Regions from separate parts of the Homo sapiens genome. Here regions 2, 3, 4, 5, 6 and 7 are each linked to region 1. The links are contacts of gene promoters, found by promoter capture Hi-C in blood cells and fetal thymus (Javierre and others, 2016). All regions are on one chromosome and are shown on one strand. Each heading gives the region's core, a stretch centred on a gene start or on the middle of the fragment in contact. The rest is flanking DNA. Distances are from core to core; before and after follow the strand shown.

Evidence for each region. Contacts are between HindIII fragments. The CHiCAGO score rates a contact against its expected background, and 5 or more counts as called.
Region 2: a contact is called between a fragment that was not itself captured here and the fragment with the promoter of ZNF621 in region 1, in 1 of 17 cell types (total B cells). The highest score is 5.8, in total B cells.
Region 3: a contact is called between a fragment that was not itself captured here and the fragment with the promoter of ZNF621 in region 1, in 1 of 17 cell types (total CD4 T cells). The highest score is 5.2, in total CD4 T cells.
Region 4: a contact is called between a fragment that was not itself captured here and the fragment with the promoter of ZNF621 in region 1, in 1 of 17 cell types (total CD8 T cells). The highest score is 7.5, in total CD8 T cells.
Region 5: a contact is called between a fragment that was not itself captured here and the fragment with the promoter of ZNF621 in region 1, in 1 of 17 cell types (total CD4 T cells). The highest score is 6.1, in total CD4 T cells.
Region 6: a fragment that was not itself captured here is called in contact with the fragment with the promoter of ZNF621 in region 1 in 3 of 17 cell types (total CD8 T cells, naive CD8 T cells and total CD4 T cells); the score reaches 6.4 in total CD8 T cells.
Region 7: a fragment that was not itself captured here is called in contact with the fragment with the promoter of ZNF621 in region 1 in 5 of 17 cell types (non-activated CD4 T cells, total CD4 T cells, activated CD4 T cells and 2 more); the score reaches 9.3 in non-activated CD4 T cells.

The regions. Positions count from the first base shown.
Region 1 is chr3:40,523,240-40,527,473 of GRCh38, reverse strand. It overlaps ZNF621 (zinc finger protein 621), which reads right to left and starts at 2,514. Exons shown (of 5, transcript NM_198484.5): 1 at 2,200-2,514; 2 at 1,610-1,695. The coding sequence starts at 1,633. RefSeq lists enhancers at 2,033-2,172, 1,732-2,544, 2,823-2,912 and a silencer at 2,473-2,632. The HindIII fragment of the contact is 8,303 bases long and covers 1-3,513 here.
Region 2 is chr3:42,204,489-42,208,722 of GRCh38, reverse strand. The region is part of intron 13 of TRAK1 (trafficking kinesin protein 1); the gene reads right to left. Among named protein-coding and RNA genes, the nearest start is that of CCK, 60 kb to the left of the region's middle. RefSeq lists enhancers at 2,225-2,274, 2,515-2,594. The HindIII fragment of the contact is 2,470 bases long and covers 1,066-3,535 here.
Region 3 is chr3:42,172,239-42,176,472 of GRCh38, reverse strand. All of the region lies in intron 2 of TRAK1 (trafficking kinesin protein 1), which reads right to left. Among named protein-coding and RNA genes, the nearest start is that of TRAK1, 83 kb to the right of the region's middle. The HindIII fragment of the contact is 1,558 bases long and covers 662-2,219 here.
Region 4 is chr3:42,107,908-42,112,141 of GRCh38, reverse strand. All of the region lies in intron 1 of TRAK1 (trafficking kinesin protein 1), which reads right to left. It overlaps LOC124906231 (a long non-coding RNA gene), which reads right to left. Exons shown (of 2, transcript XR_007095889.1): 2 at 2,800-4,234. Among named protein-coding and RNA genes, the nearest start is that of TRAK1, 19 kb to the right of the region's middle. The HindIII fragment of the contact is 1,786 bases long and covers 1,484-3,269 here.
Region 5 is chr3:42,087,208-42,091,441 of GRCh38, reverse strand. TRAK1 (trafficking kinesin protein 1) reads right to left here and starts at 85. Exons shown (of 16, transcript NM_001042646.3): 1 at 1-85. The HindIII fragment of the contact is 9,137 bases long and covers 1-4,234 here.
Region 6 is chr3:42,024,726-42,028,959 of GRCh38, reverse strand. It overlaps a transcript of TRAK1 not described here. Among named protein-coding and RNA genes, the nearest start is that of TRAK1, 65 kb to the left of the region's middle. RefSeq lists an enhancer at 3,704-4,234. The HindIII fragment of the contact is 195 bases long and covers 1,727-1,921 here.
Region 7 is chr3:41,945,638-41,949,871 of GRCh38, reverse strand. All of the region lies in intron 2 of ULK4 (unc-51 like kinase 4), which reads left to right. Among named protein-coding and RNA genes, the nearest start is that of ULK4, 14 kb to the left of the region's middle. The HindIII fragment of the contact is 1,985 bases long and covers 1,037-3,021 here.

The DNA.
Region 1 (4,234 bases), core at 1,265-3,764:
TGTAATCCCAGCTACTCAGGAGGCTGAGGTAGGAGAATTGCTTGAATCCGGGAGGTGGAGGTTGCAGTGAGCTGAGATCATGCCACTGCACTCCAGCCTGGGTGGCAGAGTGAGACTCTGTCTCAAAAAAAAAAAAAATTTAAAAATGGACAACACTTGCCAGGCACAGTGGCTCACGCCTGTAATCCCAACACTTTGGGAGGCTGAGGCAGGCGGATCACCTGAGGTCGGGAGTTCGAGATCAGCTGACCAACATGGAGAACCCCCGTCTCTACTAAAAATACAAAAATTAGCCGGACGTGGTGGCGGGCACCTGTAATTCCATCTACTCGGGAGGCTGAGGCAGGAGAATCACTTGAACAAGGGAAGTGGAGGTTGCAGTGAGCGAAGATCGCACCATTGCACTCTAGCCTGGGTGTTGCAGTGAGACTCCATCTCAAAAAAACAAACAAACAAACAAAAAACAGGTGCATGCCTGTAATCCCAGCTACTTGGGAGGCTAAGGCAGGAGAATTGCCTGAACCTGGGAGGTGGAGGTTGCGGTGAGCCGAGATAGCGCCATTGCACTCAAGCCTGGACAACAAAGGCGAAACTCCGTCTCAAAAACAAAAAAAATAAAAGGACAACACTTAATATCTTCTTAATTGACCAACACCTTTCTACCATCAATTTGCCACTAAGGGCTAGGAAAATCTTTTTAATATGTAAATCCAACCATGTCATCCCCCTGCTTAAAATTCTTCAGTGCCTTCCCAATGAACCAGTACAGAAACCACTGTCCTCACCATGACCTATAATACAGGTATCTATTTCTTCCATCTCATATTGAACCACTTTCTCTGACCCCTTCCAGTTTCTAGAGTACATCCAGCTTTCTCTGCAACTTCAGAGTCCTTGCATCTAGCATTTAGAAAATGTATATTAAAGCAACAATACTAGTCTCTCTGGGATACATACAATACAATTTGTGGGCAATCTCTCCAATAAAGAATTTCTGATTTCAAGCTAGTGCGGTGGCTCATGCCTATAATCCCAGCACTTTGGGAAGCCGAAGCGGGTGGATCACCTGAGCTCAGGAGTTCAAGACCAGCCTGGCCAACGTGGTGTAAACCCCGTCTCTACTAAAAATACAAAAATTAGCCACACGTGGCGGCGCACATCTGTAATCCCAGCTACTTAGGAGGCTGAGGTATGGGAATCACTTGAACCCAGGAGGCAGAGGCTGCAGTGAGCCGATATCATAGTGCCACTACACTCCAGCTTGGGCGACAGAGTGAGACTCCGTCTCACAAAAAATGAGTCTGATTTCAGTAGGTGACTTTCATTTCTAGAACACGATCTGGATTTCCACATTCAGAAAGAATTTCTTGGTATAGGTCCCCTTTCTTCCATTTAAATCTATACATCCAAACTCATCACTCTCTATACACAAAACTTTCATTTCCCCAGCACATATTTACATCTGCCATAGCCCTGGAGATAGATACAAAGGGGAAAACACAGCTTGGCCAAGTTAGGCCTTCCTCATCCTTTCCTGATTATCTGATAGCTAATGTGAGTAAAAAAACATAAACAAACAAACAAAAAAACTGAAAGAAGCTCAGCTCACCTGAGGCCAAGTTGTTTGGAGCATGGCGGATGTCCCCTGGCTTCATGCACTGTCTTCTGGGTTTGGACAAGCAAGATCCTCAAGAGCTAAGAGAAAAAGAGCCATGAGTGCTAAGGACCCTGTCGTCCACCACCTACAGCAACCTATGGCCCTCCCAGTTTCCACATTTCCAGCACTGGATGCACGGAGATTCTACTAGGACTCCCTCTAATTGTTCTCACGCTGATAGCCCCAAACTTCTTATGAATTGTTCTGCCTAGTCTTCAGGACAATCTTCCACCTGCCTGCTCAGTCCGAAGAGCTTTTTTTGAGCCCATTCGTACGGGTAAACTGAGGGACCCAAGAGCCCTGTCCCTATTGTGTTGGGTCTCTACAAACGTAAAGAGTCTTTACAGAATGCTTACAGGGACGATGACGTGGACCCAAAAGAAAGAACCTCAGGAGAAGAGGGACTGGGGTGGCTGAATGCGGATTAAGGGTAAAATACTCAGCGTCCCAGTGGGTGATGCTGACCGGAGACCCCACCCAACCGTGATCTTAACACTCCACCCAAGAAAACAGGCAACCCCAAACATCAGAAACGTCAGTACCGGGAGCCAGAGGCTGTCAGGGCAAGTTCTTTAGGGCAGAAAAGAGGATCAGGCCTCGGTGGCAAAGGGCTGGACACGGGCTCTAGAAGCCCGAGCAGCCACCTTGACGGCTTCGGCGAGGCCCAGATGCCCACGGTCCGGGTGAAGGAGGGGCGGGCCGCCATTGGGACCAAGTTCAGGGGTAGTGGGGGCTGACGAGCCGCCAGGGGCAGCGAGGAAGCCGGCACCGGGCGGACCTGGCACGTAGAACTCGCTGAAACCCACGCTCTGCAGAACGCCGAGGAGCTGGTCACTAACTAAAGGCCGAGCCGGAAGGGCGAGTGCACGCCCAGGGTCCCTCTAGGCCCCCGGAGGCCGCCATCTCGGTCGCCCCGTGGCCAGACCCGCCCCGCCTTTCATGGCTGGCCCCGCCCTGCGGAAGAGGCGAGGTTGCGGCGACCGGCTGGGCTGAGAGGCCGGCGGCGGGCGTGGAACTGTGGCGCTCTAAGCCCGGCTTTCTCCGGCAGCCGTCGGCATCGCCTCTGGCTGGAGTGTCACGGACTGATACAGCCTGGCTCTACCGAGACCTCGCCCTCTAGGCACAAGTGGGCCCCCAGTTCACGGGCTGCGCCTCAGCTGTTGGCCGCCTTGGCCCCGTGGCTCACCTGAAGCCTGGGCCGTGCAGGTGAGGGGAGAATGGCGCCTGCTTTGTCATCTCTAAGAGGCCCAAGCCCAGGATCTTGCTTGGGTCCTCAGCTGGGCAGTCCTCAGGGAAACCATGGTTTCCACTCGCCGTTTTAGCCCTCTCCCTTCCAAGGACCTAGATGTGCGTAGAACCTTTTAGGACAGATTCATTTAACAACCAAAACACCCGTGGCTACATACAGTTGCTAGGCATCCTGTATACACAGGACATGTCCTATATTAAATGATCTTGTCCTGTGTTGACTTTGGGAGGACACCCTAAATGTCTTATATTTAGCTTTTTCCAATAAATTACAAAAACTCGTAGTTACAGCTATTTTTCTGCTCAGTAACTGGCACTTAAATAAAATGTTAACACCAGCTGAAATATATATATCTCATACTTCCATAAATAATGATCTGGACAGACCTTTATGGTCTGTTCTGTTAGTTGGACTGCAGGAAGAAAAAACAGTGAAGAGGGGAGGCTGCTAATTAAAAGAACTTACTTTTCATATTCAGGAAAGGAAAAGACTGTTTTTTGACCAAAGTCCCAAGTCACTAACAAGTACTTGCCATTAATTTACATAATTTTAGATCAGTACACGTACTCTGAAAATCAACCAGTACACAACAGCCTCACTCCAAGCTTCTGAACATGAGCCAGTCAGTGATAAACACTTCCCGAAGCCAGCCAGTGGCAGCTCTACCCAGCTCATTGGCAAGTACCTCACTACTGTGCCCTTCCTTCTGGACAGGAGCCTTTCTCCAGTATCAAAGTGGTTGCTAAGATGGACAGACTTTGTTTTTTTTTTTTTTGCTTGTTTTTTGTTTGTTTGTTTTTTTGAGACGGAGTCTCGCTCTGTCGCCCAGGCTGGAGTGCAATGGCGCAATCTCGGCTCACTGCAAGCTCTGCCTTCTGGGTTCACGCCATTCTCCTTCCTCAGCCTCCCGAGTAGCTGGGACTACAGGCACCCCGCCACCACGCCCAGCTAATTTTTTGTATTTTTAGTAGAGACGGGTTTTCACCGTGTTAGCCAGGATGGTGTCGATCTCCTGACCTTGTGATCCGTGCACCTCGGCCTCCCAAAGTGCTGGGGATTACAGGCGTGAGCCACCGCGCCCGGCCCAGACTTTGTTTTACTTTAATCACGCTGATAACTTCTCCTGAACACAGTTCCAGATACCAGGCTCCTCACCACCAAGCATTTCCATGCTATAAAGGGGAATTGGTCTCCCACCACTAAAAGATAAAAAATGATCCTGGATATCTAGATATATTGCTTTATTACAGGGGTCCCACTTCTTGGATTTGTTATTCCTTTCTTAAGAATTAGACTGACTTATGAAGTCCTATTATGGAGAGTATCTT
Region 2 (4,234 bases), core at 1,051-3,550, 1.7 Mb before region 1:
ATAAATATTCCATGCTCAAAGGAGAGACTTCTGAAGAGGTTCTCGGGCACCGAAAGGCAGGAGGCTTCCTGCACAAATGGATGCTCGGGCAGTCACCACTGGTTTACCAAGGGTATACTTTCTGGGTAGGCAAGAAGCCCTCCAGGATACCAGGTTGCCCTGGGGAGCGAAGAAAAGGGAGTCAAAGATGCCAGGAGTCGGCAGCTCAGGAAGTCAAGACAAAAGAGAAGGGAACACAGGCAGGCCGAGGTGGGAGGCGGTGGGGTGAGGGAGAGGCCGCATGGTGTGCGCAGAGTCTGCCATTTCCAAACACCCCTTGGAAATAACTTCTCATGTGTCGATCTCAGCCAGGGAGGCTTGAAAGGGATTTATAAATGAACAATTTCAAATCCACTCAAAAGGAAAAAAAAGGTGCACACTGCCAATACATGTTTAAAGAGTTCCCAGACACCCACATCAAGGCTTATCCCAGTTTTAAGGGTTCACGGGTACAATAGCAACATACTTAATTTGGATCTATTAAATATAAATAGAAAATATTCTAAATTCAAGAAAAAAAGAAATAAGAATGACTATAACGAAAGAGGGTATCACATATCCGTTCTCTCACTAGGTGCTAAGATGCATCTAGAGCGGTGTTCTCAACTAGGGACAATTTTGCGCCCCGTACCCCACTCCCCCAGGGACATTTGGTAATGTCTGGAGACACGTTTGGTTGTCACAGCTGTGGACGAACGGCATCTGGTGCTAATGGCATCTAGGGGGTAAAAGCCAGAGATGCTGCCAAACATCCCACAATGTACAGGACAGCCCCCACAACAAAGAACAAACTGGTCCCAAATGTCAGCAGGGCTGGGATTGAGAAGCCTTTCTCTAGAGCTGTGGTTCTTAACTCTCAGATGTTTCGAGAATCTGAAGGAAGCTGTGGACCCACTTCCTAAAGGAAGTGTGCATGCTAGCAACACTGTGCAAACAACGCCGGGGCTTCGCAGACCTGCAGAGACCAGTTCGTGGGCTCCCGAGTCCCAGATGCCACAGCATCACTGTGATTTTTTAAATTAAGCTTCCCTATATTGAGGCAGGCCTGCATCGCAGTTTGTTTTACATGTATTATATCAGCTCACTCCTTGAAACCATCCTAGGAACTGAGTATGATTATATACTTTACAGATAGGGGAATGGTGGCTGCCTGAAGTTAGATAACTTTCCAAAGCCACTTAATTAGTGGTGGCATAGCCGGGGTTCAGAACTAACCCATTTGATGGGTTCACTGCCCACCCATCAAAACCCACAGGTCTGAGAACAAGAAGGACATCAGTGTCCCAGCTGCACAAATGGTCAGCAGCAGAATTTCCAGATGGGTGTCCAGGGCCTGCCAGGAGATATTCCTGCTGATAGGAGTTCTCTGCTGTCCCTGCGGACTCCCATTCACACTACCTAATGGGCCCCAGTACAAATGCTCACTGGCTGTGCAGGCACATTCCTGATAACAAAATAGCACCACGAGAAGTCTTAAAGTAGCCACTGTACTGCCATGTTCAGTTTGGGACTGTACACTGGAGTCTGAGAAGGATGATGAGAAAACCCCATGTACAATATGGCCACGTCACCTCTACTTTTGGAAGGGAAAAGGGGGGTATGCCAATAGACTCTGGGAAGTGAAGAACCCTGGTAAGGAAATGCCAACCTCCTCATCCTTCTGAAGGGGGTCTGAGATGTTTACAATTCACTGGGAAAGAACCCAGGGAGGCTGGAGGTCTGGGCCCTGACAAGAGTCTCATAGGCCTTTCTCCTCCAACTGTTCAACAGGCTGCCCCATCACTCCCTCTCCTCACCCGCTCCCAAGGATGGGCTGAAGAGAAAGAAATGAGGCTACAAAGGGTCTGCTGTTTGGAGTTAAGGATGCCACAGAAATGCATGGAATTACTTGCATTCTCTGACACTCCACAGCCAAGGAAATTTAGTGAAATTACAACTAAAACATTATGTGAAAAGACGCATCATGCTCAGATTTTTATCCCATGCCTTGGGATGTAAGAACACCCATGTAAGAACAGCCAACTTTTACTGGGCTTTTACTAAGCGCCAGACACTTTTCTGAGGTCTACATTTATAATTCACTTAATCTTCACGTTATCCCTGCTGTCTGCATTCTGCAGATGAGGAAACTTGAGTACGGGAAGGGAAAGTAACTTGCTAGAGGCTACAGAGCTGGCAAGTGGCTTGACTGATCTGGGACTGAAACCAAGGCTGGCTCCAGTGTCCATTCTCTTAACTCTCAGCAGTGACAGGCCTTACACATGAGAGCCTCCGAAACCTAGTCAATAACACAACTGAATGGCTTTCTAGATTCTCATGTGGGTGCTTTCTCAAACCTGACTGTGCTATTTCAGTTATGTCATGCTATGGGGCTCATGGACTATCTCCACTTCTGGCTGGTTCCAAAGTCCCAGCGGGGTTTGCCAAACCCATCAACTGGGCAGAACACCTCATGCTTCACCTCCCTGCTGCTGCCTAAACCATCATGTGGGAATTCTACCAATCCCCTGGCTGCCTGGAGTCCTTCCTTTGACATAAGAAGGTATAAGAATTAAAAAATAAATATGAATTGCATCTTATTCAGAGCCCAAGTTACCTCTTTCTTTCCATTTCTCCAGCTCATTCCCCAGCCTGGCTTCCTTTACTTGCCAAACACTGTAATATGAGCTACCTCCCATTACCAACTCAAGACCTGCTCACTCCTCCCACCCACATTAAAACCAGGCAGGAATTAGGCAAACAGGGCAAGGAAAGAGAGGAAACTTCATGTTCCTGGTTGGCCCCAAGATAAAGTTCTATGGGAAAAGGGCACGGACAGTGGGGAAAACATGACTATGGTCATTGCGTCCTTCCCCCTCTGCTTTCCTTCCATACCCCAGTGTTCCAGCTAAAACATTTTCAAGTCATCAAAGGAGAGGAAACCCCAAAATCCACTGATGTCAGAGGAGCATCAGGGCTTAGATACTAGAATGAAACCTGCTGGATAATGTACAGCTTTGAAGTGTATCCTTTCCCTTATTTACATATTATTTATTTGGAAATGCTACCTTGGTTATGATTAAGCAGAAAGGAAGTGCAAATTACAGGAAAAAAATACTGCCCGCCTTGGTCTTTTTAACACAGATATCTTTCTAGTTTGAATGGTTTGTTTGTTCTTCACCTGCTTAAAACTGGTAAGGTAAGATGAAGAGACAAGAAAGTGCTAGCACTCTTAAACACTTAGCTTTTTGGCTTTCACAATAAGCAGATGGCAAGATTAATTCAACAGGTAACGGAGCCAGATGGAAAACACTGATTGGCTATCTGCTATGATCTCAGCCAACAGTCTCTAGGGACCTCACCCCAGGTACATTTACCTGGGCTGCTGGTGATTATGGGAATCTTACTAGCTTCTCAGTGGGCCAATAGAAAAAGATAATTTAAGAACATGACCCTAGTGCTGGTCCAGATCTCAATACTAGTAACTCAGCCCTACAGACCTGGATTGGAGCAAGCTTGGGAAGCCAACATTTTAATAAGCACCTATTAGATGCCAGGTACAATATAAAATACTTCACATTTACTCCTCACCACAGTCTGGTCTGATGGCTATCAGCCTATTTCACAACCACAACTAAATAGGAAACAGGGCTCAAAAAGTGGGGTGATTTATCTAATGTCACAGTCAGAGCTGTACTGAACCTAGCCCAGGCTGACTTCTGTGTCAGCATCCCATCTTATCATATTAAACATGGTAACACAAAAAATAACTGTGGAGGGGAGGGAAAAAAGAAAATACTGGTTGTAACAGCTAAGAAGTCTGAGCCAGGTGTGGTGACTCATGCCTGTAATCCTAACACTTTGGGAGGCTGAGGTGGAAGGGTAACTTGAGGGCAATGGTTCAAGACCGGCCTAGGCAACATAGTAAGACCCTGTCTCTACAAATAAATAAATTAGCCAGGTGTGGTGGTGCAGTCCTGTAGTCCTAGCTACTTGGGAAGCTGAGGCGGGAGGATTGCTTGAGCCCAGGAATTCAGGCATGTAGTGAGCTATGATCACACTACTGTACTGCAGCCTGGGTGACACAGCGAGACCCTGTTTCAAAAACTAAATACATAAATAAACAGCTAAGAAGTCAGAGAACTACAAAATGGAATCAAAAGAATCTGTATCATGAGGTTGTGTTATAGGCCACTGTGATAAGACAAATAACTTT
Region 3 (4,234 bases), core at 191-2,690, 1.7 Mb before region 1:
TAGCACAGCCACCCATGTGTGAATGATCAGAAAGGCCTGTAGGATTTAGACTCCACTAACCATACAGACCCAACCATACGAACAGACTGGGATCCTTCAGAAAGCAGCTGTTGGCATAATTATTAAACAATAGTCTTAAACTGATAATTTCATAATGGCATAGCCCCCTCCTCCTCAAGTGGCCTACATTCTAAGGTTATGCAACCAGCTCCATACCATGAAAACTAGGTTGTTATTTTTTAAATATACATTAAAAAGACTACTATGATTGCACACACACACACACAGAGTAATATTTCATTACATGTACAATTTACTGTGGTCATACAAGGCTGCACACAAGCACTTTAGGACTATGGGTCTTTGTTCTTCTTCCGTTGGAGAAATGGGTTGTGAAACAAAAGAACGCTTTTGTCTGCTAAAGATACATCAGGGTTGTTTTATTTTAAATCAGTGACAAGGAACTGATTCGCCGCTCAACAAACACCAAGAAGGTAGCGTAAGTTTTATTCTATTGGGGGAGGAGTGAATATAAATGGATTTATGGCCAGCCAACGTGCAAAATTTTTTGAAACCTGTCACTTTGGGACTAAATAAATAACTTCTTAGTAATGTTTTGTAACTAAGACTTCAGTGAATAATTCTGTTAAGAGTCAAAGCTTTCCTAATGACCCACATTCAGTAACAGCCCATGCGACACATTTGGGAATTGAAGTGTATTACTAAGTCAAACTCAGCAGCATTACAAATGGCAAACAGCAACTGGAATTCAATAGGTCTCTGAATATTTTATTAAATGCAAGTAGAGATCATCCTAGTAAATTAGCTCAGAGAAATCGGATCTGTTGGAATGATTTTCTAACTTAGGGAGGAGACCTGAAATCTGGTTCTAAATCTGAAACCCTACCAAGACAGTGCCACCAGAGCCAGCAGACAAGACCCCTCCACCCAACACTTTCATGAGATCCCTCCTGTCCAAGCGTGGGGGGAAATATGCTGCCTCAGACAGAGCTGCCAGGGAGGGAGAAGCAAGGGAGATTTATAAGGGTAGCTTTAAACCAGGATCTAATTTGATGTAGATGAAGTCCAGCTCAAATTGCTCTAGATAGTCCATCAGCTCGAGGTCACACAAGTGCTTAAGTGAAGACTCCTATGCTACCAACCCGAGTTAGTCTTCTTCACGCACAGCTGTGATGGTCTGCAGGCGTGCAGATACAAACCCTGGGGCCCCCCAGCCAGCACGCCAAAGCATCTGCAGCACCCTTTATACACCAGGTAACAGACCACAGCAACTAAGTGGTCTCTGTGTTTAAATTTGTGTTGTCACTTGAGGGCCTGCTTATCCCCACTCACCGGCGCCCACTCTCCTCAAAAAACTGAGTCCTCTGCCTTCCTGGAAAAAAAGAAAACTGGGCTACCTTTTAACTAACCTGGCTCTATTATCTGTACAAGAAGATTCAGAGCTGCTATTTCTCTAACACTATATTATTTAGAGATAATACTCAAATTTTTAAGGCTAAGTTTTTGAATTAAGGTAACTGTAATTATTCAGATAGTCAGTCATGTGTAGATAACCACAAGCAGACAGAAGAAATAACACAGAGGGGGCCGGGTGAGGTGGCTAATGGCTGTTATCCCAGCACTTTGCGAGGCCAAGGCAGATGGACCACTTGAGGTTAGAAATTCGAGACTAGCCTGGGCAACATGGCAAAACCCTGTCTCCACTAAAAAAAAAATTTTTGTATATATATAAAATTTTATATATATTTTTGTATATATATAATTTTGCATATATATAAAAATTTTGTGTGTATATATATATATACACACAAAAATTAGCCAGGTGTGGTGGCACACACCTGTAGTCCCAGCTACTCGGGAGGCTGAGGCAGGAGAATCACTTGAACCCGGGAGGCAGAAGTCGTGCCACTGCACTCCAGCCTGGGCAGCAGGGCAGGACTCCATCTTGAAGAAATAATACAGAGGGATCCTGTATACCCTTTATCCAGTTCCCCCAATGGTAACATTCTGCAAGATCATAATATCCCAACCAGGATATCAGCACTGATACAATCCATAACTTTTCCTCAGAGTTCCCGTTTTACTTGCACTTATTTGTGTGCACATGTGTGTATTAAGCTCTATGTAATTTTATTACCTGTGTTGGTTCATGTATCTACCACTTACAAGGACCCCTTGTGTTGCTATTTTATAAAGCTTTAAAATATTTTAAAAATTGAACCCAATAAAATGCACACCTGTCTCTACTAAAAACACAAAAATTAGCCAGCCGTGGTGGCAGATGCCTGTAATCCTAACTTGGGAGGCTGAGGCAGGAGAATTGCTTGGACCCGGGAGGTGGAGGTTGCAGTGAGCTGACCTTTACTAAGCACAGTGACCATGGCCAGGCACCATTCATAACCCTCTATATGGATTATTTTATGTAATCTTCAGAGCAATACTATAAGGGGTAAGCACTTATATTAACACCATTTTACAACAGAAAACTAAGGCCCAGAGACGCTGAATAACTCACCCAATGTCACACAGCTAGCAGGTGGCAAATGTCAAAATAACAGACTCTCGGTAGAGGTAGCAGCTAACACCGATGGTGCCCCTATCATGTCAAGGGATTTAACATGCTTTCTCAATTAATCTTCACAACAACCCTGCAGGGTAGTCGCGATGACTACTCCACAGATAAGAAAACTGAGGCTCTGAGACATTAAGAATCTGGATGTTAAGGACCCCACTGAGGTCACAGAGAATGAGGCTGCATTGCAGAGACTGCACCGAGGCCAGTCTGGCTCCTGTACTAAAACGGAAGACCATAAAGGACACGAGAGCAAGGCACAAACCATCGATGTGTAGGAAGTGTGTAAACAGAGCGAGCAGCATTTGGGCCTAGGGGAAAGAAAGAACCCTGACCTTGGGTTCAGAGGCTTAGGTTTTCTCAGGAGACTCTATCCAAGCCAAGGGGCTCTGAGCAGCCACCAACTAACTTCTAGGTTTTAGATTTCCTGTTCCAAGAAATAAGGAAGCAAGAGTGAGACCAATGAAGGTGAAAAAATAATAAACCATGCCTTCAGACAGCATAAACACAGGTTATGCTTTTCAAATACCAACTTCCTAGGCACTAAATCTTCAATCAACCGTGGTCAAGTTTCTCTCTCTATAAGAATGTATTTCAAAGAGAAGTTCCATTTCTGACCCAAGGAGTGCTACCAAATAAATCCACTTCCACCCAAAAGATGTTTCAAAAAAGAAAGAAAAGCAAAATAAAGGAGCCACCATAAACCTCTACGATAATTTTTTTTTCTTTTGTTAGAGACAGAGTCTCGCTCTGTCGCCCAGGCTGGAGTACCATGGCGCAATCTTGGCTCACTGCAACCTCGGCCTCCCTGGTTCAAGCGATTCTCCCACCTCAGCCTCCCAAGTAGCTGGGATTACAGGTGCCTGCCACTATGCCCAGCTAATTAGTGTATTTTTAGTAGAGATGGGGTTTCACCAGGTTGGCCAGGCTGGTCTCGAACTCCTGACCTCAGGTGATCCACCTGCCTCGGCCTCCCAAAGTGCTGGCATTACAGGCATGACCCACCGTGCTCAGTCTCTATGATAATTTAATATAAGAAAATTATGGTCCATCTCCTAGAAAAAGAAGTTAAATGCAACTTGCTGCCTACCCACCATAGTAAAATACACACGCCTCACCTCTGACTAACACCAAACAACCATTACCACGCACCAAGCTCTGCACTGAACAAGGCAGGACACCTGCCCTCCTGGGGCACACAGAAAACAGGGCAGCCTGGAGGATGGGGCTCAGGGGGTTCGAAGCCTGACAAGTAGCTTTAAGAAGGGTGGAATTAAATGGAAAACCACTAGAGAGTTTTTGAAGGGGGGTTATGCAATAAGGTTTATATTTCAGAAGCATTTTGGCTCCAGTGTGCAGCAATGGGGGAGGGGGTGCAAGGCAATTTAGATTGACAAGCATTGAGGCTGTTGGATTAATGCAAGGAAATTGTAGGTGGCAAGGAGTGGGCTCTTATCCTGAGATTTAAGAACTAAAACTGAGTGGGAGGTAAATCAAAAAGCACTGATCAGGGCTTCTCACTGGGACAACAAGGACAAGAGTGATGTCCCCTTTCAAGATGGGCATGAGATGGAAAGTCAGAGGCAAGATGCGGTGCCCCCAAGAAACCACTGGCACTGGGACAGTAGTTGATGTCACTGT
Region 4 (4,234 bases), core at 1,127-3,626, 1.6 Mb before region 1:
AAAAAAGTAAGAGCTGAGGAAAGGGATTAGATTACCATTAGGTTCATGGAATTCCTCTTCCCAAACTTTCCTTGGAGTCTTAGTACACTCTGGAGTAGGGGCTACTTTTTGACCAGAGAAGACACACACCTGGTACAGAAAAGTGCTTTGAAAACCAGTCTCCTGAAAAAGGGAGAAGCTCGGGAAGTGTGAAAACTCTTTTCTAGATTTGAAAAAAAAAAAAAAGAAGATGTCAGCCCACAGCATCTTTCAAAACAAGTGTTGGCAAATTTCATACTTATCCCTGTAAAATACTATATAAGGCATCAAATTTTGTCATAGGGGTTACAAAACTATAAACCCAGCCCAAAACAGAATGATCTTCGTGTAATTTTTAATAAATAAGAAAATAATATGGGTTTAATCAAAATAGATGCATTTTGAATTTAGTAAGATTACCATAACTAGGGCTGGGCGCAGTGGCTCACACCTGTTATCCCAGCACTTTGGGAGGCCTAGGTGGGAGGATCACGAGGTCAGGATATCGAGACCACCCTGGCTAACACAGTGAAACCCCGTCTCCACTAAACATACAAAAAATTAGCCGGGCATGGTAGTGGGCGCCTGTAGTCCCAGCTACTCGGGAGGCTGAGACAGGGTAATGTTGTGAACCCGGGAGGCGGAGCTTGCAGTAAGCCAAGATCGCGCCACCGCACTCCAGCCTGGGCGACAGAGTGAGACTCCGTCTCAAAAAAAAAAAAAAGGATTATCATAACTTCTAATCCTGTGGCTTTAGGCAGCCTAGTCCACGGACAATAAGGAGGTTTGTTTTGGGAAAAGGACTGGTATCCTCTTTGTTTCAAAGCTAAACTATGAGTTCCTCCCAAAGTTGGTTCTACCTGTGTCCAGGAATGAATAAGGACAGCTTGGAGGTTAAGAGCAAGATGGAGTCAGTTAGGTCAAATCTTTTTTCACCGTCTCAGATTTTCTGGGTTCACAACTCCTTCTGGACCTTCTGTCTGGAACACTTTTCCCTTCTCTGCCAACCACCCCTTTGCCCTCTGATCCCAGATGGACTGACTTCTTCAGGGCCACCTCCCTAGATAGGTGGGCTAAGTTACCCCCTTGGCCCCTGGCATTTTCCACCCATCACAATTTGTAGTCACTGATTTAGTGATTGATTACCAGCAGTCTCTGTCATTGGACTACACAGCTCCAAGAGGGCAAAGACAGGGTCTGCTCAGGGCCAGAGCAGACACTGAATAAATGCTGCAGGATGGAATGAGCAGCCATCTGGTTCTTCACAAGCACCTGCAGTGCCCTGCGCTGGGAAAATCGACCCTCACAAACACTGAGCAGAGCGGCCAGGACCTTCACTGAACACCTGTGGGAGACCTGGGGCTTTTGCCAAAATGATGCCTTTCTCCTGGTCACAAAAATACACAAGGCAAGACTTGCTTTTCTGTCTTCTACTCCTCTACTCCCTCCTGGGCCACAAAAAGCTTGGTTGTCAAATGGCAAAGCTCACACCCCACCTATAAAAGGCAAGGGGCTCAGCCAGGACAACAAAATTCAACACATGAAGCTGAATTGGGCAAGGGAAGTCAGAATAGTGTGAATGTTTACAACCCTCAATGGGAAAAAAGCCCTTCAGCTCTTATGCTGCAAAGGCAGGAGGAACCCTTTCAGGACTACTTCATAGGAACTTAAAAAGCTCTGTGTGTAGGACTCCATCCCCAGAGAGGAGCACCTCAGCCTTGCATGGCTCTCAGCTTACAGGGGGCTGTATTTTCTCCTGTGCTCACCTTAGCAGAAGCCCCAGATCCATCAACCCCCACCCCTCAACACACACACATACACACCCCACAGCCTTTCCCTCTATTGTTTGTGTGGCTCCAGCCACAGCCGGGAACTGCCCGTCTGGGCTATTCAAGTTATCCCCACATGGACAGTTTTTATAAGTGTTCTGGTTACAAAGTTGCATTACTCCTGGTATTTTTAGTGTCCAATTTTGCAACACACACAAAGTTTATATATATATATATATATATATATATATATATATATACTTTAAGTTCTAGGGTACATGTGCACAACGTGCAGGTTTGCTACATATGTATACATGTGCCATGTTGGTGTGCTGCACCCATTAACTCATCATTTATATTAGGTATATCTCCTAATGCCATCCCCCCCGCCACCCCTACCCCATGACAGGCCCCGGTGTGTGATGTTCCCCATCCTGTGTCCAAGTGTTCTCACAGTTCAATTCCCGCCTGTAAGTGAGAAAATGCGGTGTTTGGTTTTCTGTCCTTGGGACAGTTTGCTGAGAATGATGGTTTCCAGCTTCATCCATGTCCCTACAAAGGACATGAACTCATCCTTTTCTATGGTGGCATAGTATTGCATGGTGTATATGTGCCACATTTTCTTAATCCAGTCTATCATTGATGGGCATTTGGGTTGGTTCCAAGTCTTTGCTATTGTGAATAGTGCCACAATAAACATACGTGTGCATGAACACACACAATGTTTTCAGGAACAAATACACAGTTAAAGAATGCCTGTGTAAAGTTTAATTTTGCACACTCAAAGCGATCAGTCATTTTCCTTATAGTTCTAGCCTTTATACCATGTTTAGGATGGACTTTCCCATCTCAAGATTAGTAAAATATCCAGCAATATTTTCCTCTAGCACTTTCACAGTTGAATTTTTAACATTATATCTTTTCTTTCTATTTTATTTTAACTGCTGTTTGCTGAGCAGGGCTAATTCACAGGCAGTGTGCCTAGGGTAGCAGCCAACATTACATCTTTGAATCACCTTTTGAACCATCTGGATTTTATTGGGTTTGATGGAGTTATGCAGGGATCCAGTTGCACTTTCTTATAATGATAACAAACACATCAGTAATAATGGTAAACACTTATGGAGTGGTACCATAAGCACTTATAAGCATTTACATCCATTAACTCATTTAATCCTCCTAAGAGTCCTAACATTTATCCCCGTTTGACATAAGAATGAATACACTACAGCACAGAGAAGTTGAATACCTAGACCCACATCACATAGCCTGTAAATAGTGAACCGGTTTTCTAACAGAGCCTGAACTCGGAGGTCAAAATCCTAACCACCACTCACGCCTGCCCCTGGCCCCAAAGATCCTGACCTCACTGATTAAATAATCCCTCCTTATAACTCTTCTTTCTCTAAATTTTCTCCTAGCCCAACTTCCAGTCTTTTGCATACTTTGAGAATTTCTTAAGCAAAGCACATAGATAAAGCTTCACTTTTTGACCCATTCTGAGACTTTGCCTTCAAACAGGAGCATTATGGTCAAATTGGGCAAGACTCATCTTACTATTGTCATGCCTCTTGGTGGTTCAACTTCTGGAGGTTTCATCACTTTGCTGTCTTTTGCATTGTAGAGTATGTGCCACCAGATTCTTTTTTCTCCTAGTGATTTAGAACAGAGCTTCCACAAGCAGTGCTGGGAATGGAGGGTGCCAGGTAGTGTCCGGGGTGACCATCAGCTAAGAACTACTTCCATCATTTACCCATCATGCTATGCAAATACCATTGTTTTCTTGTCAGGGTCATGATGTGGGTTAGGTTAGGGAATGCTAATGTTGAATGTTTGAATCTTTTTTTTTTTTTTTTTTTTTTAAAGGCAGGGTCTCACTCCTGTCACCCACGCTGGAGTGCAGTGGTACGATCACAGCTCACTGCAGCCTCAACTTCCTGGGCTCAGATGATTTTCCCACCTCAGCTTCCCAAGTAGCTAGGACTACAGGCAGGCAGCACCACACTTGGCTAATTTTTTGTATTTTTAGTAAAGATGGGGTTTCCCCATGTTGCCCAGGCTGGTCTTGAACTCCTAGCTCAAGGGATTCACTTCACTTGGCCTCCCAAAGTGCTGGGATTACAGGCTTGAGCCACTGCCCCCAGCCTGCATCATATTTTTAATTATAGTCAAGGAGACATGGTAGACACATGGTGGCCATCCGCTATCCATACTCTTCTTAGTATCAAAGCTCTGAGCCCCATGGAAAAACTACATTTCTTAGCCTCCCCTGCTGCAAAATGAGACTACAAGGCTAAGTGTTGGCCAATGAGATAAAAGCACTGGTGTGAGAGCCTTTCTCAAAGGCTGCCTTCCCTACATCCTGGAATTCAGACATGATGGCTGGAGCTTCCGCAGCCTTCTTAGATGTGACATGACCTTAAGGATGGAAACGACATCTAGTATGG
Region 5 (4,234 bases), core at 752-3,251, 1.6 Mb before region 1:
AGAGAACAGAGAGAGCCTCCATGAGAGCTCAGCCCCGGCAGTACCTCGCACAGCCACCCTCCCGTGCCTTCCTCAGCAGTTTTCTGAGTTTGCTTGTTAGGGCAAATCCTAAGATTGTGAGCTGTCCTGGAAGCACAATGGGTTATGTAACTCCAGGCAGCCTGGGAACCCTATCAGCTCATCTTGTTAAGCCACCCCAAACAGAAAATGACGCACCCAAAAATGTGATACCTCTAGGTTGGGGGAAGGGGAGTAGCAAGGAGAACGGGGCTTTGTGATGGGCATTCGGTTTTGCCTAAAAATTAAAGTGGAACAAAAAGTCTGCTGTTCATCTCAGGGCTTGCTGGGAACTGGGGGAGGAGTGAATTTATCAAGGGCTGAATGCCAAGCAGTGTCCTGAGACTGCACTTGGCAAAGCCCTGGGAGGCCACAGATGCATTCTTGGGGATAGTCTAGGTCTCTCGGAGAACTTTTTTCCATTTAATGTCTTCCTTTCAATGACTGCCTAATAAAACTTTAATCCGAGCATGTTCTCCATCACCTGACAGCCCATCCCTTAAACGCATAAGAGTGTCTGTGTTTACTCTCCTGTTTACCAAGCCAGTGCTAAACACAACAGCACCGAGCTGTTTCTCAGCTTTCCTCTGGTCCCAACAAAGAACCCCCAAGTCACCACATCCTATAGGGTTTGAAGTTTCAGCACTACATTCTGCCACTTCTTTGTTGTGTTTTTTGTTGTTGCTGTTTCGTTTTGTTTTTTTGAGAGAGTCTCACTCTGTCGCCAAGGCTAGAGTACAGTAGCACTGTGTCAGCTCACTGCAACCTCCATCTCCTAGGTTCAAGCAATTCTGCCTCAGCCTCCCAAGTAGCTGAGATTACAGGCGTCCGTCACCATGCCTGGCTAGTTTTTATATTTTTAGTAGAGACGGGGTTTCACCATGTTGGCCAGGCTGGTCTTGAACTCCTGACCTCAGGTGATCTGCCCGCCTCGGCCTCCCAAAGTGCTGGGATCATAGGCGTGAGCCACCACGCCCAGCTGTGAAGTTTCAGCGGTACATTCTGCCATTTCTTTACCCTCCACTGTCACATTCAAAGAAAGTGAAAGCACTTTAACAGGCTGGATGCTTCCTGGATTTCACTGGTACAGATGCCACTAGAATCCCAAGGATCAATTCATGTGTTTGGACAAATGTAGATGCGGTTGGGTCATCGCCTCCTCCACAAAGCCCTCGTGGTCTTCTCCTGTCCTTTCCCCTCCAAGGTTCAGCCTGGCACCCTCCTTGGTGCCCTACTGTGCTGTGCTTATCATTGTGCTAACCTCGGTGTACAGCCAATTTCTACTCACTCATCTGTCTCCCCAACTAGACTAAATTCTTAGGCAGCAAAGAACCCTTGCCCTGGGGTCCTACAGACCTGGATGCAACTCCTGCCACTCAGGAGTTTCACCAAGGTGCTGAACCTTTCGAGATTTAGACTCTTCACTTACACAAAGAGGATAATAGTACTCACTGCACAAATTGACACAATTGATACACCCAACAAATGTTCACTGAGCGCTGGCCACAGGCAGGCACTACGTTAGTCACTGGATTCAGGAGTGTGCAAAGTAGACACAGAGTTTGCCCTCCGCGACTTTAGTCTACTGCAAGTTTGGGAGACAAAACACAAATACAGTAGTTCAGCAGATGGTTAAGTTTGGGGGAAAAAATTAAACAGGAAAGGGAGATGGGGAAAGGTGAGGCAGATCACTCTGTATTGGGGGGGGGTCACAAAAAGCATCAAATAAAATGTCACTTGGAGAAGGAAGAGGGGGTCATAAGGATATCTGGAGTTAAGGCAATCCAAAGACCCTGAGGCTGGATGTGCCTGGTGAGTTCAAGGTTAAGTGAGGCGGCCAGTGTACCTGGAGCACGGAGGGCACAGAGGAGGCAGGTCAGCGGGGCAAAGAGGGATTCCTGTCATTCAGCCCCTTCCTTACAGGTCTCTATAGAAGGGGAGCTCACTGGAAGTTTGGAGGAGAGTTAAACCATCTGATTGTATTAAAAGCCAACTCTCATGGTTGAGCGGAGAAAGAATTTTAGGGAGGCAAGGGTAGCAGTAAGAGGCCCCACTGGAAGGCCAGTGCGGTCATCCAGGTGTGAGATGGGGGTGGCTGGGACACAGTAAATGCTGGGTAGATTCTGAACATACTCTGAAGATACAGCCAACAGAATTCTTGACAAACTGGGGTATGAATCGCAGAAAGGCAGAATCACAAATGCCTCCAAGGTTCTTGGCCTGAGCAACTAGAATAATGAAAGCACCATTTACAAGGATGGGGAAAACCCTAAGAAAAGCAGGTGCAGGTGGAAACCAGGAGCTCATTTTTGGTCATTTGAGTTTGACATGCCTGTTAGACATCTAAGTGGAAACTCATGTGGAGTCAGTCTGAGACATCTGGCCTTAAGGAGGAAGGGCCAGGCTGAGTACAGAAACCACCGAGTGGCCAGTACAGAAGGCGATTTTAAAACCTGTGTGCTGGGTGAGATCAAGTGCTGCACAGGTGCACACATAAGAGCAAAGAGGCGGAAAGGCTGGGCCCCGGGCCCTTCAACGTTCCCAGGCTTGGGAGAAGAAGAAACGCAGCCACTGAGGCAGAAGAACAGGGAGAGTGTGGGGACCCAGAAGCCAAGTAAAGACTGTACTTCCAGGACACAGGACTTGGCAACAGTGTGAACTACCACTGAAAAGTGAAGTAAGGTGAAGGCAGAGGACAGACCCCTGGACTGAACCAGGCTGTCAGTGTGGTGGGGCATGAGCCTGCCTGCAGTGGACTCCAGAGAGAACAAAAGAAAAACTAGAGTAAGCAAACAGAAGAGCAGAGACACTGGCCTGCGGGAAACACGGGACTGAGAAGGATTCTATTTCCGAAGAGGGAGATCATAGCATGTTTCTGCACTAATAAGAAAGACCCAAGTGCAAGGGGAAAAGAATGATGCAGTAGAGAAAAGGGAGATGTTGGAACTGTGTCCTTCAGGGGGCAGGCAAGTGGGAGAGGGACTCAGTCACAAGCGGAGGACAACACATGTGGGCCACTTAACAAAAAGGGAGAGGAGGTGTGTGGGGGCCTAGCACAGCAGCTAGGCACCAGGCTGGGACCCCCGGCTTTCTCTGTGCCTTTCTGTATCCAGGAAACCCCTGACACACAGGAGGTCCTCAAGGCTTAACTGGTAACACAGAACCAAGAGAAGCTACTGGAAGCCAACTTGCATATATTAAGCTGTCATCAGGCATTACTTCAAACAGACAAACAAAAGCAAACACTGCAGACAAAAATGAGAAATTAAGCAAACTTCTATATGAATGCAACTGGATTGAGCTATAATTTTGCCACTTGCTGCTGTTATGCACACCATCCTACACCATTTCCATTGAGAGCCCTCTCTTGTGCTAGCTTCAAGCACTTGTCTCAATGCTTCCTTGGGGAAAATAAAAAAGCAATAGCTCTACTACTAAGTGCCCGCACAGATGTTAGGTGATTACCACCTGGGACACTGAGAGTTATGACTGACACAGGTATCTGTAAAAATCCATGTCTGTGCAAATCCTGATGGTGTACAAAGGGCACTCCATGTAGTTTTCTGTTTTTGCATCCCACAATGACAGTGCATGTTATTCCCACTACACCTGTCTTATATCTGAAGAAGCTGAGTGCAAAGAGAGAAGGAAGGGTTCAATACACTGAGTGCCTGTGATGGGCCATGCTTGCTGCTCAGGTTTGGATGTTACCATCTTTAACCTTCATGACAATTTAGTGAAATGCTGTCTACCTCTCAGTCAGGATAGTAGGTCAACAACTGACACAAGTTACAAAATGGTTCACTGGCAGAACAGGTTCTGGATTGGAGGTCTCACAATCCGAAAGCTCAGAGTCTTTTGCACTTTGGTGGTTCCTCTCCACATACCTCCCCAAGACCCTCCCATGTGGCTGCATTCCTTCCCTAGTCCTCAGTGACTGAAACCTCCCTCCCTTCCTCCCTGGCAGGGAAAGGGCCCCCATACCAGTAATGGTGCAGGCATCCCGGTACCCTCTGTAGCTGGGAGCATCTTCCACAGCCTCGCTTATGTAGTGTTCCTCAGGGATGCCCAGGCTGCAGGCTAGGACTGCATGGTTGCATGCCTCCGAAGGGGGCACGGAGTTGGCCAAAGTGTCGTCGTGCAGAGCTGTGGCGTCCAGCTTGGCAGGTTTCACGGG
Region 6 (4,234 bases), core at 575-3,074, 1.5 Mb before region 1:
GAGCCAATCAAACCTTTTCTTTGTAAATTACCCAATCCTAGGTATTTATTTATAGCCATGTGAGAATAGACTAACATACCGTCTCATAAATAAATCATCTAAAAATCAATCAATTCTTGTCACTCCCCTGCAGCTTCCTCCATACTCAGAATCCTCCAGTAGTTCCCAATCATATGCAGATTAAAATACCCACTCCTTACAACAGCCAGCAGGCCAGTGGGATGCAGCCGTCCCCTGACTATCTCCTGGCTTCATCCACGTCCACTATCCCCAGGGTCCCCTGCACTGCAGCCACACTGGCCTTCTCACCAAGGCCTCTGCACTTGCTGTTTGCTCTGCCTGGGAAGCTTTTCCTCCATATGTTCCCATGGCTCAATCCCCATTCAATCTCTGCTCACCTATAACCTCCCTAAAGACACCTCTGCTGCCACCTCATTCTCTCCCCTAGTCACTACCTGGTATCATATCCTACATCTATTACTACATTGGGTCTCTTTGGTCTGCCCCCAGACCTGGACTGTCTCATTTACTGTCATAACTCAGTGCCTGGCCCAGGGAAGCCACACAGCTCACACTTAGCAATCACTGATCTAAGTGGGTCTCCAGCTCCCCATTCTGCCAGGAATCCCCTGACTCTAATCAAAGGTGATTCTTACCTGCGGAAGACCTGTAAAATCAGAGTGAACCATGTATTTCCGGAATAAACATAAACCACTCAGCAACTCTACTGGGGAGCAGCATGTAAACACGTGGCCCACGGCCTGGTGTTCCGGCACCTGTATCCACTAGTTTGTAAGAACAGAGGCTGTGGCCGGGGGTGGTGGCTCATGCCTGTAATCCCAGCACTTTGGGAGGCCAAGGCAGGTGGATCACCTGAGGTCGGGAGTTTGAGACCAGCCTGGCCAACATGATGAAACCCCGTCTCTACTAAAAATACAAAAAATCAGCTGGGCATGATAGCTGGCGCCTATAATCCCAGCTACTCAGGAGGCTAAGGCACAAGAATGGCTTGAACTCAGGAGGCGGAGGTTGCAGTGAGCCAAGATCGCACCACTGCACTCCAACCTGGGCAACGAGAGCGAAACTCCATCTCAAAAAAAAATAACAGAGTCTGCCATTGAGATAAAAGGCTTCCTACTTTATGATTCCCCTCCTTCAGATAAAATTAGAGAAGTGAAAAATGGTTGTTCCTGGTTTTCTTTCCCAGTCTCTGAATTCGCAGGGAAATAAACATATTAATAAATAATTAGTTACCCATTTCAGTACCTCTATTCTCATACTGGCCTCACTGTATAGTTTAGGTTTGGGGCTTTTTAAAAAATATTTTCTACAACTAAATAATGTTTAAAATACAAAAGTACTTTTTGAAAATAGATATATTTACTTTATTTTGAAGAAAAACGCCTGGATTAGAAAAGCTTTACTTTTTTTTTTTTTCAGATGGAGTCTTGCTCTGTCTCCCAGGCTAGAGGGCAGTGGCGTGATCTGGGCTCACTGCAAGCTCCACCTCCCGGGTTAACGCCATTCTCCTGCCTCAGCCTCCCGAGTAGCTGGGACTATAGGTGCCCGCCACCACACCTGGCTAATTTTTTGTATTTTTAGTAGAGACGGGGTTTCACTATGTTAGCCAAGATGGTCTCGATCTCCTGACCTCGTGATCCGCCCGTCTCGGCCTCCCAAAGTGCTGGGATTACAGGCGTGAGCCACCACGCCCGGCCAAAAAGCTTTTCTGAAAATGTACTTCTGACAGTTGTGGCCATTATTAGAGTAAGATATGCCACTAATGTATGCACATATTATCTCATTATTTTTGAAATAAAAATGATGGGGTAATTAATTTTGTGCTTAGCTATAAAATTAGTGTAAATATATCAAAATATCAAATTTGAAATAAACAGTAGGAAACAACTATAATGAAGCTTGCATCATTCTGAGATTTTATTAAAGAGTATACATTGAGGTTACATTCACATAAGAGCCCATTTCCTGTAGAAAGTCAGTCTACCAGAGCAGTTATTTAAGTAAATTTGATATTGATTATACCCTATAACTCCAAGCTAAGACATGGGTTACTATAAATATGAGGGGAGAAGGAGGGTCTACACATGGAAGCTTACTGACAAAAGTTGATCACTGGCCAGGCGCAGTGGCTCACGCCTGTAATCCCAGCACTTTGGGAGGCCGAGGCAGGCAGATCACCTGAGGTCGGGAGTTCAAGACCAGCCTGGCCAACATGGTGAAATTCCATCTCTACTAAAAATACAAAAATTAGCCAGGCGTGGTGGCACGTGCCTGTAGTCTCAGCTACTCGGGAGGCTGAGGCAGGAGAATCACTTGAACCTGGGAGGCAGAGGTTGCAGTGAGCTGAGATCATGCCACTGCACTCTAGCCTGGGCAACAGAGTGAGACTCTGTCTCAAAAAAAAAAAAAAAAAAGAGATCACTGATCTCTTTGATCACTGAGATCCAGGATAACAGCTGCAGAAGAGGTGATTAGCCAAACAAACAACACACAAATTGGTATGTAAAAATAATCGGTGCCCTGGCTAGCTTATCAGTCCATTGAGGTAAAAGCGATCCTGTACAAAAACTACCACTGTGCCAGAGGAGTGAAGAGGCAGCAAGCTAACCACGCAATTCAAAACAGGCTCTTGTCAAAAAAATTCTCTAGTATATGATCACCCTGAGACTTACCCACATTTCTTATACTTTCTATGAAATGCTAAGGCTCACTTTTAATCTAAAATAGACAAACTTTCTTCATGTGCCTCTGAGTCCTCTTCTAGTTTCACAAAGGATTAAATAAAAAGGGCCTCAAAGGACAAAAGAAGGAAGTATAGAAAGGAGGGATGGAGGGAGAGACAGGGAGAATGAGAATACAGAAAAATAGAGGAAAGCAAGAAAGAGACAGAGGGAGAAAGATAAACGGAGAAAGAAGAAAGAACAAACAGCAGAGAGAGAAACAAAGAAACAGAGACAGAGGAAGAAAGAAAAGAAAAAAGTTCATGGGAAAAAAATAGTGATGCATTTCATGGAAAAGCTATTTGTTAAAGAGTCCCTCTTTTTTCTGTGTACAGTATCATGCCATATGTGGGAAGTGAACAAGGCTGGAACACCGCCTAAGAACATCTGCCACGGACTTTAAAAGCCCTAATAATAGCACAGCTGGTGTCCCCAGCCTAATGAGCTCACCACCCACGTGACTGCTCCTTCTCCAGCAGATTCTCCAGAGAGAGAAGGCAGCCAGCAAGAGAAGCAGTCCCCGCCCCCGCCCTCCCCCACATTCATGCTTTATTTCCTCCACGGCTTTCATTCTCCCCTTCCAGAAACCACCCCTTCTCATTTTCTTGAGCTAAGTTACCCTGATCCAGCAGTCCTTTGAACAGACACATTCTTCTTTTCTCCTTCCCCTCTCCCTTTGAACAGACACATTCTTAACATGAAAGGCAAATACCAGAAATAAAATATGGGGACATCACTACAGGTCTTATGGACATTGAAAGAGTAATAATTGTGCCAATTAATTCAGTAGCTTAGATAAAGTGGATAAAGCCCTTAAAATACACAACTTATCAAAATTAATGTAAGAAGATATAAATAACCCTATACTTATTTTTAAAATGGAATTCCAAATGAAAAATTTTCTACACCACAACGAAAGGCCAGCGTGCCCCAGCGTGCCTCGTTGCCAGGGTCTGAGGTACAGGCCCCTCCAGGAGTGCTGGTCTGGGAAGTTATGTCTGACAGGAAGACTCTCCCCCTGACCAAGGCATATTGCTAGGAGGAAACCAAGCACAGCAGAAAGCGGGGCAGGGAGGACGTAAACAAAGAAGTTAGGTTTTTACAAGGTTGGCAAGTTTTAACCCCCTCTGGTATAATCTTTTGAAACTAATTCCCATCACGGTATGCTTTTAAAAGCTCTCTAGCATTTTAAGAAACTGCAACTTAGCATCAGGAAGGGAAAGAATTTCAGCTTCTAAGGGGAAGCCTAGCAGAAAGTGACAAGAGGAGACTCACGTTGGCACTGATGTGGTATCCCTAGCAATTGGAAGAGAAGCTGAAAAATCTGGGATCTCTCACTCTCAGTCCAGGGCAACACATCCTGACAGCCAGGAAGAGTCAAATGGCTATGGTAAGACGTATGGGGTTTATTCACCAGAAAAAGACAAAGAACGCCACATTTCAAAACTCAGGCTTGGTAACACAATAGCATGGGTGTGTATGCAAGCATGAAG
Region 7 (4,234 bases), core at 780-3,279, 1.4 Mb before region 1:
TCAGCTACTTGGGAGGTTGAGACAGGAGGATTGCTTCAGCCCTGGAGGTCGAGGTTGCAGTGAGCCGCGATCATGCCACTGCACTCCCGCCTGGGCGACAGAGACACTGTCTCAAAAAAAAAGAAAGAAAAAAAAAAAGGCAGGTGTGGTGGCTCACACTTGTAATCCCAGCACTTTGAGTGGCCGAGGAGGGGGCAGATCACTTGAGGTCAGGAGTTCGAGACCAGCCTGGCCAACATGGTGAAACCCTGTCTCTACTAAAAATATAAAAATTAGCCAGGTGTGGTGGTGGGCATCTGTAATCCCAGCTACTTGGGAGGCTGAGGCAGGAGAATCGCATGAACCTGGAAGGCAGAGGTTGCAGTGAGCTGAGATCGTGTAATTGCGCTCCAGCCTGGGCAACAAGAGTGAAATGCTGTCTCAAAAAAAAAAAAAAAAATTCCGCTAATCTTTAAGTGTTGGACCTGGACTTTGTATTTTACTTTGCAAAATTTGTTTTTGTTTTGACAGTTTATTTTATGGAAACTTTACTTTTTGTGTGTGTGTGTGTGTGTGTCTGTGTGTGTGACAGAGTCTCAAAGTCTATCCAGGCAGGAGTTCAGTGGTGTGATCTTGGCACACTGCAACCTTTGCCTCCCAGGTTCAAACGATTCTCCTGCCTCAGCCTCCCGAGTAGCTGCGATTTCAGGTGCCTGCCACCACGCCTGGCTAATTTTTTTGTATTTTTAGTAGAGACGGGGTTTCACCATGTTGGCCAGGCTGGTCTCGAACTCCTGACCTCAGGTGATTTGCCCACCTTGGCCTCCAAAAGTGCTGGGATTACGGGCCTGAACCACCACGCCTGGCCTTAGGGTTTTCTACATATAAAATCAATCACATCATTTGCAAACAGAGTTAATTTTACTTTTTTCCTTTCCAATTTGGATGCCTTTTTTTTTCTTGTGTAATTGCTCTGGCTAGGACTTTTTATACCTTCTTGACTAGAAGTGGAGAAAGCAGACATTCTTGCCTACTTCTTAATGTTAGAGGAAAAGCTTTACTCTTTCACCATTGAGTATGTTGTTTGCTTTGGGTTTTTCATATATGACTTTTATTATGTTGAGATAGTTTCCTTCTATTCCTAGCTTTTGGAGTTTTTTTTTTTTTTTTAAAGGTTGTTGAATTTTGCCAAGTGCATTTTCTGTATTAATTGAGATGATCATGCGTTTTTTTCCCCTTCATAATGTGGTATATTACATTTTCGTATGTTCAACCATCTTTTGTTTTCCAGGAATAAACCCACTTGGTTATCGTGCATAATCCTTTTAATATACTGCTGAATTCAATTTGCTTGCATTTTGTTGACATATCTAGCTTTTACTAAGATAATAAGATATTTAGCATAGTGCCTGACACTTAATAAACACTCTTTCTTTTTTTTGAGACAGAGTCCAGACTCTTTCGTCCAGGCTGGAGTGCAGTGGTGCGATCTTGGCTCACTGCAACCTCTGCCTCCCCTGTTCAAGCGATTCTCCTGCCCCAGCCTCCTGAGTTGCTGGGATTACAGGTGCACATTACCATGCCCAGTGAATCTTTGTATTTTTAGTAGAGATGGGGTTTCACCATGTTGGCCAGGCTGCCCTCAAACTCCTGACCTCAAGTGATCCGCCCACCTCGACCTCCCGAAATGCCGGGATTACAGGTATGAGCCACTGCGCCTGGCTTAAATATTCTTTCATGATGTCTCTTACGTCACAGTCACTAATGGAACAAGAAATACATAGAGAACACATAGATGGAGAGGGAAATACCCAGAACTGGAAGAGAGTTGAGAAGAGGGATGTGGGGTCGGTCACGTGTGGGAAAGAAGGATGAGGGCAGGTTCAGCATGTGCAAGAGTTTTAATGGATATAGAAAGGCCACTGTTTTCTGTTTGCCTTATTCCTGATTTATAGAGCCTGGGGAAGCCTCTCTTTTTTCCAAGATTCATTCACTCACTTCAACACCAAAAGCGTATTGTTGAGTGTCTGCTGTGTTAGAGGGCGAAATGATCCTGTACTTTTGAGCTTATGATCTGGTAAGAAAGGTGAGATAGAGGAATCAAGGCATGTATAAACACTCCATTCAAATGGTTGTCCAAGTCCCTGCTTTTTAGGGGTCTTAGCTCTTGGAAACTCCTGTGTCCCATACCTTGCAGAAGCATTTCTACTCTTTTCCTTTGCAGAAGTTCATCATATGCTACCATTTATTGAGTATATCTAATATGTTCCAGCCAGTGTGCTGGGTGCATTCACTTCTCACAATTGCCTATGATGTCAGTATCATCCTGATCTATAGTTGGTTCAGATCTGTTGGATCATGGTACCAATGCCCCCTCTCCAGTTGAGGAGGCCAGCAGGGTAAGCCGAGAAAATAATTACATGTAAGGAAGAGTTTGACTTCATGGCCTTTTTTCTCCTCTTCTCCATATAGCATTTACCATCATGCTCCCCACTGGCTGTTCTCAGCTGTCGCGTTGACAGTCCTCCTCAGTACTTTCCCTTGCTTTTGACCTTTTCATAACCACACTTTCAGGTGTCATAATTTACCTGTCTCGCTCTGTCGCCCGGGCTGGAGTGCAGTGGCACAGTCTCGGCTCACCGCAAGCTCCGTCTCCTGGGTTCACGCCATTCTCCTGCCTGAGCCTCCCGAGTAGCTGGGACTATGCCCGGCTAATTTTTTGTATTTTTAGTAGAGACGGGGTTTCACCGTTTTAGCCAGGATGGTCTCGATCTCCCGACCTTGTGATCCTCCCGCCTCGGCCTCCCAAAGTGCTGGGATTACAGGCATGAGCCACTGCGCCCAGCCCTCTTGTTCCTTCATTTTAGGACACTGCTGGATAATGTAACAAATTCATTTTCCTTGAAGTATCATCCCCTTCTGTGATCATATTTTGATAGCATTTTGGAGTCCGTCAAAGGCTTAATTCAGGGGGGTGACTAATAGAGATTTTTCAAAGACCACAGTAGGGCCACTGTGGGAGAAATTTTCAGACAAGAAGCTTTGTGATACTTTTTAGGCTTATCAGGATCCAGAACAAATGCCACCCTCTCCTGTAAAACTTAACCCAATTAAATCTCTTGGCCCTTTGACCGCAACATGGAAACCTGATCACAACAGAGAAACTATCTCACCATGAGAATACAACTTGTGACACACACTACAAATGCTGGATATAAGGGTGGATAGCACAACCCCAGGGAAAATTTCACTACGTTGGTAAACTGATGCCTTTCCAAGTAGAACAAGTACTATTGGGAAATGTACTGGATTCCAAGAGAATAAGGAATATTTAGTGCAGGTGTTAGTGTGATTAGGGGATCTTTGGGGTCTTAAGGCACACCCGAGTAGTGTAGTGTGTAGTTCAATGACTTTTAACAAACGTATGCAGTCATGTAATATCCAAATCAAGAAACAGTCTGTCTATTCCTCCAGAAAGTGCCTCCTGCCCTCTCCAGATGTCATCTTCAACACTGCCCCCAGCACTGTTCTTACTTCTATCATTGTAGATTATTTTGCCTGTTCTTGAACCTCAAGTAAATGGGTTCCTATGGTATGTACTTTTTTGTGTCACACTTCTTTTCCTTAAGATGTTTTTGAGATTCACCTGTGTTATTGCAAGTATTGTAGTTATTCCTTTATTACTAAAATGCATTCCATTTTGAGTGAATCTTTTTATTGAAGTAAAATATACATACGGGAGAGTATACAAACCATAATTGTATGCTTAAATTTTCATAAAATAAATACACCCATGTAACCAGCACACAATCAAGAAATAACATGAGCAGTAGTTTAGATGCCCTTCCCGCCCCCTGCCCGTCTCTTTCTTCCCACTCAAGGGTAATCATGATCTTGACTTCTAACTCCACAGATTAATTTTGCTAGTTTTGACTTTCTATGAATGAAGAGTCTGAATACATATTTAAAGTACAGATGATCGTTTTTGGTCATGGATTGGGTATGAGGTGTGAAAGAGAAGTCAATGATTATCCTAGGGTTTTGGCCTACATGACTAAGAAGGATGGTGATAACACTGAGGGAAAAAAGACTAGGAAAAGAATGGATTCGGGCATTTTAATTTTGGGTGCCCACTGGAAGACACTGGGTCTTTGAGTCTGCAGTTTAGGCAGTTCATCAGGGTGGAGATGTAAATTTAAGGAAGACATCTGGAAATGGGCACAAAGTGCTTTCTGGAGGGATGGAAATGCTGTGT